Linked DNA regions of Homo sapiens: regions 2 and 3 are each linked to region 1. Evidence: promoter capture Hi-C in human tissues and cell types (Jung and others, 2019). All regions are on one chromosome and are shown on one strand. The core of a region is centred on a gene start or on the middle of the fragment in contact, and the rest is flanking DNA. Distances in the headings are between cores, read along the strand shown.

Region 1 (2,595 bases), core at 63-2,562:
TGATTTCATAATCCATTAACGGACATGTCCTTAAGTTTTAAAAAACCCAGCCTACAGAATACATTTTTAAATAGACTTTATATTTTAGAGCACAATTCAACAGAAAGTACAGAGAATTCCCACATGCCCCCTGTCTCCACAGCTCTCCCCTGCGCATCAACATCTCACACAGGGTGGGACACTTGTCATGGTGGACCACCCCACATGGACACGTCATCATCGCCCAGCACCGAGTTTGCATTAACATTCGCTCCTGGTGGTGAACATTCTATGGATTTTGACCATTGCATAACGACACATATCCGCCATTATGGTACGTTTCACTGCCCTAAAAATCCTCTGCTCTGCCTATTCATTCTTCCCTCCAGAATATTTTTAACACGATCTCGAGGCCATAGATGATATCAGTAATTTGCAGTATTGATGATAGTGGTGAACCGGAGGAGAGAGACACTGTTAGGAAGCTGCTGTAGTGGTTCAGGTGAGTGAGGACAGAAGGACAGCTGTGGCTGCAAAGGCTGGAAGAGAGGAGGGTGTGGGACACTGGTCAGGAAGAGACAGGCCTTGGTCAAGGAGTGAGGAACGGGGAAGCAGGAGCCACTGGACCCTAGGGGTCTGGAAGCTAGTGGCCTTGGTGTGGGACTGCAGAGAGATAGGAGGTGCCAGACGGCAGGGACTTCAAGGCAGAATTGAAATCTGCTGAACAGCAGGCGTCGGTCAGCTGGGACAGCCGGAAAGCTCGGGATCAGGAGGCGGTCAAGCTGAGCTCTGCTCTCATTCCGCCGCGTGACCTTGGGCAAGTCCCTTCCCTTCTACAGGAGGCTGGACTAGATGTCCTCCTTGTACAGCGTTGCGGGGAAGGTGAGACAGTGCCACCAACACAGCAGGGCATTGCTGGGTCGGGGGGATGGGGCAGGAAACGCTTCAAGGATCAGGCAGGATTTTCCTCCCACCAGGAAAAGCCGGCGCGGGTCTAAGGCCGGAGGAGGGACCCAGACATAGGAGTCACCTTCTAAGGGGCTTCCTGGAGCACATTTTCCTGCCCAGCAACAGGCGGCAGCATTCTCTCCCCACTAATCCTCTCCAAACAGCAGTGAGAGAGAATGCCTGCCGCTTCAAGCCAGGTCGCAACCCCTCGGTGACCCGCTGCGCCCGAGGAGGGGCCGGCGGTGCGCGGTGGTGGCGGCGGGCGCGGCAGCTGTGCCCGTCTGCCCAAGGGTTAATCCGTCCCCTGCAGCTGCCGCGCGTGCCTTGCAGAATTTCACCAGAAGAGGGTACAGTTTGAAAAGCTCCTGACGTCAGGCTGGAATTCCTATTGTGTTTAGAAAAGGCTCGGGCAAAGCCAGCCCAAGTTCGCTCTCTGCACACCTCGAGCACCTCGCGGACGGCGTGGGTCCGCCAGCTCCGGGACCTGCCGCCGCTGCCTGCGCGCCCCGGGGCGGAGGACGGTGCCAGCCGCCCACGAGGAGACCCCGCTCCCGCAGGAGGCCGAGCTGAAGCGGCGGAGCGCGCCGCCAGCCAGCCGGGGTGAGTGCCCCGGGCGAGGCCGGCGGCCGCCAAAGCCCCCGCGGGCTCGCCCGGGCGCCCGGATGCCAGCCCCGAGCCCCGCCGCCGGGTGCATGCCTCCCCCGCGGCGCGCCCCCGCAGGCTGCTGCCCGCTGTGACCGCCCTTCCCCGCAGGCGGGCGCCGGCCAGGCTCTCCCCGAGATCAGCGCACGGGTGGCACCCGCCGGACCCCCAGCGGCAGCGGCGGCGGCGGCTGCAGGGGGCGCGGGGCGGAGGCTGCGAGGGCGCGCGCGGGGAGGATGGACGGGTCCGGGGAGCGCAGCCTCCCGGAGCCGGGCAGCCAGAGCTCCGCTGCCAGCGACGACATAGAGATAGTCGTCAACGTGGGGGGCGTGCGGCAGGTGCTGTACGGGGACCTCCTCAGTCAGTACCCTGAGACCCGGCTGGCGGAGCTCATCAACTGCTTGGCTGGGGGCTACGACACCATCTTCTCCCTGTGCGACGACTACGACCCCGGCAAGCGCGAGTTCTACTTTGACAGGGACCCGGACGCCTTCAAGTGTGTCATCGAGGTGTACTATTTCGGGGAGGTCCACATGAAGAAGGGCATCTGCCCCATCTGCTTCAAGAACGAGATGGACTTCTGGAAGGTGGACCTCAAGTTCCTGGACGACTGTTGCAAGAGCCACCTGAGCGAGAAGCGCGAGGAGCTGGAGGAGATCGCGCGCCGCGTGCAGCTCATCCTGGACGACCTGGGCGTGGACGCAGCCGAGGGCCGCTGGCGCCGCTGCCAGAAGTGCGTCTGGAAGTTCCTGGAGAAGCCCGAGTCGTCGTGCCCGGCGCGGGTGGTGGCCGTGCTCTCCTTCCTGCTCATCCTCGTCTCGTCCGTGGTCATGTGCATGGGCACCATCCCCGAGCTGCAGGTGCTGGACGCCGAGGGCAACCGCGTGGAGCACCCGACGCTGGAGAACGTGGAGACGGCGTGCATTGGCTGGTTCACCCTGGAGTACCTGCTGCGCCTCTTCTCGTCACCCAACAAGCTGCACTTCGCGCTGTCCTTCATGAACATTGTGGACGTGCTGGCCATCC
Region 2 (2,595 bases), core at 53-2,552, 98 kb after region 1:
AATGGTATTTCTAGTTGTAGATTCTTGAGGAATCGCATTAAGAGATATACCTAATGTAAATGACAAGTTAATGGGTGCAGCACACCAACATGGCACAGGTATACATATGTAACAAACCTGCACGTTGTGCATATGTACCCTAGAACTTAAAGTATAATAATAATAATAAAAAAGCCTAACTACACCTCTTTCTTCCTTCTTTCTCAGAAATCCATGTGGTCCCTAAAACAGGTCTTACTCCATTTTTTAAACCAAAAACTATGAAGTCCCAGACAGGTTATGCACATGGCCAATGACACAGCTGTTAAGATCCCACGTTGGCTGACTCTTGTTCCCAGGTTTTCCAAAAGCCAAAATGTCCCAGTAACAGCTGACACTTAGATGCCATTTACTTTGTAGGCCCCTCTTGAGTTTCATGAAACCCAAGGAGCGACTAGACGATCCCATGGGGGGCTACTAGATTCTTGTCTTATATAGAAGCACAAGCACAGAGGAAGGTTACCTCTTCTGTCCCTCTGACATGAATGTTCTTGAGCTGGGCCTGGGTCCAGGTGACTGGAGATGTTGCTATGTGTTAAGAACGCATTAATTTCAGTGGCAAAAACCACAATTACTTTTGCATCAACCTAATAAATGTTACGCACTCTAAACCTTATTGTATATATTATTGTAATAAATAATTGAATTAATTAACATTTATAAATAACATTTAAATATATTAACACTTAATATTAATATCCACTGTTAATATTTGATACAATCAATGTTTTAAATTAATCATTAAATCTCTAATGAATAGATATTTATATTTGCTGAGCAATAACTTGATCATTGGTGAAGCTGGTGGTGGGTACACGATAGCTTATTTTACTATTCTCCCAATGTTTAAATATATTTGAAATTTTCCAGAGTAGGGAGTTGAGAAAAAATTAATGTGACAAGCCTTTCTTCCTTCCCCAAGGACACGTAAAAGTCTTAGAGCTTGTGGCTGCACCATCTTTTCTCCCTGGTGTGTTGTAGAAGGACTTGGAGGCCCCGGACAGATGTCCAGATGGTGGGTTCAAGTTCTGCTTAGTTTTCACACCCACACACATATTCACTCACTCCATTTCTATGGTGAAGTTCAACTTGTTGGTTTCCATTTTTAGGCCCTACATTTTTCTTATTTGGTCGGCTTAGAGGGACAGAGAAGGAAAGAGCATTTCTCATCCCGGAAGCTTGAGGGAGGTGAGGAGCCTTATTCAGCCCACCTCGTCTGGGAAGCCTTCTGGGAGGACCTGAAATCTGAGGAGGGCTTTGAGCTGTTTTCTGCAGAGACAGGAGGCTGTTCCCAGAATCCGTAGGCAGAGCCTGTGCAGGCACAGATGCTGCAGCAGAAGGAGGAGGCCAAGGGGACACAGGCCCGAGCCCCGCCCTTTGCTGCGTGAGACTATGGCAGATGCATCCATTCACATAACATCCACCCAAGCCAACGCCAGATGCTGGGACACAGGGAAAACCAAGGACTTGATCCTGTGCTCACAGACTCCAGAGCTCTGGGGCAGGCAGCATCATAAACAGCTAGACTAGCATGATGGCATTAGGAAAGCAGGAAGCCCAGGGAGGTGTGTGAGGACTGCAGGAGGCAGGCCACGTGCCGGAGGGGCAGACATCCTGAGAGACCAGAGGGGGTGAGACCAAGGGTCAGGGGTGGTGGGACGGTGGATTCCAGGAAGCGGGTGAAGAAGAAATGAAAGATTGGAGGTGAGAGAGCTCAATGTGTTTCGGCTTTAGTTCGACTGCAGTGTGGAGTAGTGGTGGGCAGGGTGGGGAAAAGGATCAAGAGATGAGGCTGGACAGTTACAGGGGCTCATGATAGTATAGCCCATTTGAGAACACACAGATACACTCTGTTTTTATCCTGGCAGCATAGAGGAAAAATAATGGAAGGGGCTAGATTGCAGACCAAGGAGGCCAGTTGGGCAACTGTTGTAGAATGAAGAAGGAGACGAGGCCATGGCCCCAGGAAGCATGGGCAGTCACCAGTGTGCACAGGCACTGTCAAAGCCCTGGAGGTGGCTGACAGTTCCCACTCTGGGACAACTCTGACGCCATTGGCCTGGTACCGAGAGGAATCATGCTGAATCCTGCTCTCAAGAAAGTCACAGCTGGACTATTCACAATAGCAAAGACAAGGAATCAACCACACAAATGGCTGTCAAGGGTAGACTGGATAAAGAGAACGTGGTACATATACACCATGGAATACTACGCAGTCATCAAAGAACAAGATCATGTCCTTTGCAAGAACGTGGATGGAGCTGGAGGCCATTATCCTTAGCAAACTAACACAGGAACAGAAATCCTAACACTGCATGTTCTCACTTATAAATGGGAGCTAACTAGTGAGAACACGTGGACGCATAGTGTGGAACAACACACACTGGGGCCTATCGGAGGGTGGAGGGTGAGGAGGGAGAGGATCAGGAAAAATAACTAATGGGTACCAGCCTTAGTACCTAGGTGATGAAATCATCTGTACAACGAACCCCCATAACACAAGTTTACCTATATAACAAACCTGCACATGTACCCCTGAACTTAAAATAAAAGTCT
Region 3 (2,595 bases), core at 50-2,549, 73 kb after region 1:
GAGCTCTGCTCTTGGACCGAAAAAGTGTTGTGCTTTTTGGCTCTGCAACAGAGAAGCCCCCTTTGAAAGGCAGAGCGCGTCAGCCCTGGGAAGTTATCTGCTCAGCCTGGCGACATGAAGCGCTTCTCCAAGGCCACACTGTTCTGGTGGCTGACGGGAGGACAGACACACAGCCACACGGTCCCCAAGTCAGGGACAGCGCCAGGCATTCTGGAGGGGGAGAGGGGTCACAGGCTCTACTCATCCTGGCTGGCCAGCCCTGGAGATAACGCCCCCGGTGGGCTGGTGGCTGTGTCTAGGTGCCGCTGCTAGAGCGCCCTGGAAATCTCAAAGACCAGACAAGGACTCGGTTCTCACTGTTCTCCTGCCCAGCTGTTTGTTACAGAGAGCTAAGACTCGGGGTGGCAGCCATAGGGCTCACTGGAAGAAAGGGCTACAAGCTTATCCAGCCATGAGACAGTGACTCCCCTGCCCGGATACATGTGGTCAAAGACTGAGGAAGCCCTTGTCACTGGCCCCAAATCCCTCCATGACTTTTGCCCAACACCATGAAGGTGGAAGCCTCCAGCCCCATATTTGAGGCACCCCAACATCTGGCCTTCCTGTGTTTCTTTGTTTCCTACCCATACAGTGCCCTTGAAGCATTAGTCCAACTGTTTGCTTCTGAGAGGCAGGTTGGCCCCAGCACTGTTCCTTTATTTTTGTCTCAGGCTCACCTTCTTCCAAACATTCCCCAGAACACTCCTTCTCACCTGGAGTGTCCATGCCACCCCGTCCCCTCTGCGTGAGTGTTCATTTCACACGGCCTTCAAGGCCTAACCCAAAGACACCTGCCTCCTTCTCAGTGCCCAGTCCCCTCGGCTGGCAGGAACCCTGTGTCTGAACCCTGTCTCTTTACCTTTCTTTCCCTTGGAGACAAGGTGTTACAGTCATGTGTGTCTCCATCTTACGCACTGTAGACTGTTAGCTTGTGGAGGGCAGAATCAATGTCTAAATAGCCTGTGTATTTCGTGAATGACGTCAATGATGAGGGATTATTCACTGGGTAAGGTGGGAAGGAGTAAAGTCAAGTTTTCTGCAGGTTCCTTTCAAGATTCCAGCCTAAATTAAACTTTCAAATTCTGAAGCACCTCCAGGTTTTACCTCTAATCATGCATTTCCCAAAGTATTTTCTAGAGAACACTATGTCAAGAACTCCTGGAGTGTCTGAGAAATCCTGCAGATAAGAAACCCATTTATTTCATGTAGTCCAGCACTGCCCAAACTTGCCAGAGCACAAGGCTTATTTCAAGTAATGACCATTAACATCTGGAAGAGTTTAAAGAGAGTACACAGGGTAAAACTGCTCTAACGGAGAAGACTGGTGGAGATCCCTTCCAGAGTGTAGCAGACCTCCGTTTTTGAAAACAATCCTTTATTCATTGGAACCCCAGAGGAATAAGACCAGAGAATGGAGGCAGGAAGCTATTGGACAAAGCCACTGCAGCCCTTCATCTCTAAGGTCTTCCAGAACAGTGGGCAACCACCCCTGCCCACTCCCACTTTTTCTTCCTTTGGGATTGGGAGGCCTTTTAAAGAGATAGAGACCAAGAGGCTAAGGACCCAGAGTAAGAAATAGATTTACACCGCGACTCAGTACACATGTCTGAGGCCATGGAAATATCTGAATTAAAAGTTGCAGAAAGCAATACTTAGCCTTGCTACATGCAATATAGTCAACCTGATATGTTCAATCTAATTCCATTTCATTTTTTTCTTAAATCCTGGCTGTGATCCACTGAATGGAATTCATAAGCCTCTGATGCGTGTCAAAGCAGGCCTGTGTCTGAGGGACTGGAAGCAGCCAGCAGGGGACTGGATGGGGAGCGCCTTCTGAAGGGGCAGCTCCTTCTCACACTGACGGCTTCCTGTGAGGAAAGGCAGCCTGTCACCCACAGAGCCTCGGATTCTTCCAGAGAATCTGGAAAGCAGAATATGCATGTGAAAGGCCTTGGTTTTAAATGTCAGCAAATAATATTTTCATATATGTAGGCCGGGCATGGTGTCTCACGCCTGTAATCCCAGCACTTTGGGAGGCTGAGGCAGGCAGATCACGAGGTCAGGAGTTTGAGACCAGCCTGGCCAACATAGTGAAACCCCGTCTCTACTAAAAATACAAAAAAATCAGCCAGGTGTGGTGGTGGGTGCCTGCAATACTAGCTACTTGGGAGCTGAGGCAGGAGAATCTCTTGAACCTGAGAGGCAGAGGTTGCAGTGAGCCGAGATCACGCCGCTGTACTGCAGCCCAGGTCACAGTGCGAGACTATTTTCTGAGACTCCATCTCAAAAAATAAAAATTGAAATTAAAAATAAAATAAAATATGTAAAGTACCATGAAGGCAACTTCATAGACAAAGGCCGCGTCCAGAACAGAAGTGATGTTTTAGAGGCTGCAGAGCCCATGATGGGTGAGGGGAGCCAGGCGGGGACAGAAGCTGGGACTGTGGTGGGATGGCACATGGGCTGGACTGAGGTCAAGGCAATGAGACAGCTGGGGACTGGACAGACCCCACAGCCACCAAGGAGGCAGAATCCACACATCCTAAATACTGACGA

Evidence for each region. Contacts are between HindIII fragments. The study calls those that stand out against the background at their distance.
Region 2: a fragment that was not itself captured here is called in contact with the fragment with the promoter of KCNF1 in region 1 in 2 of the 25 tissues and cell types used here (dorsolateral prefrontal cortex and hippocampus).
Region 3: a contact is called between a fragment that was not itself captured here and the fragment with the promoter of KCNF1 in region 1, in 5 of the 25 tissues and cell types used here (IMR-90 fibroblasts, aorta, hippocampus and 2 more).

What each region holds. Positions count from the first base shown.
Region 1 is chr2:10,910,622-10,913,216 of GRCh38, forward strand. It overlaps KCNF1 (potassium voltage-gated channel modifier subfamily F member 1), which reads left to right and starts at 1,313. Exons shown (of 1, transcript NM_002236.5): 1 at 1,313-2,595. The coding sequence starts at 1,806. The HindIII fragment of the contact is 13,350 bases long and covers 1-2,595 here.
Region 2 is chr2:11,008,676-11,011,270 of GRCh38, forward strand. No RefSeq gene overlaps it. Among named protein-coding and RNA genes, the nearest start is that of KCNF1, 98 kb to the left of the region's middle. The HindIII fragment of the contact is 3,995 bases long and covers 1-2,595 here.
Region 3 is chr2:10,983,608-10,986,202 of GRCh38, forward strand. No RefSeq gene overlaps it. Among named protein-coding and RNA genes, the nearest start is that of KCNF1, 73 kb to the left of the region's middle. The HindIII fragment of the contact is 5,936 bases long and covers 1-2,595 here.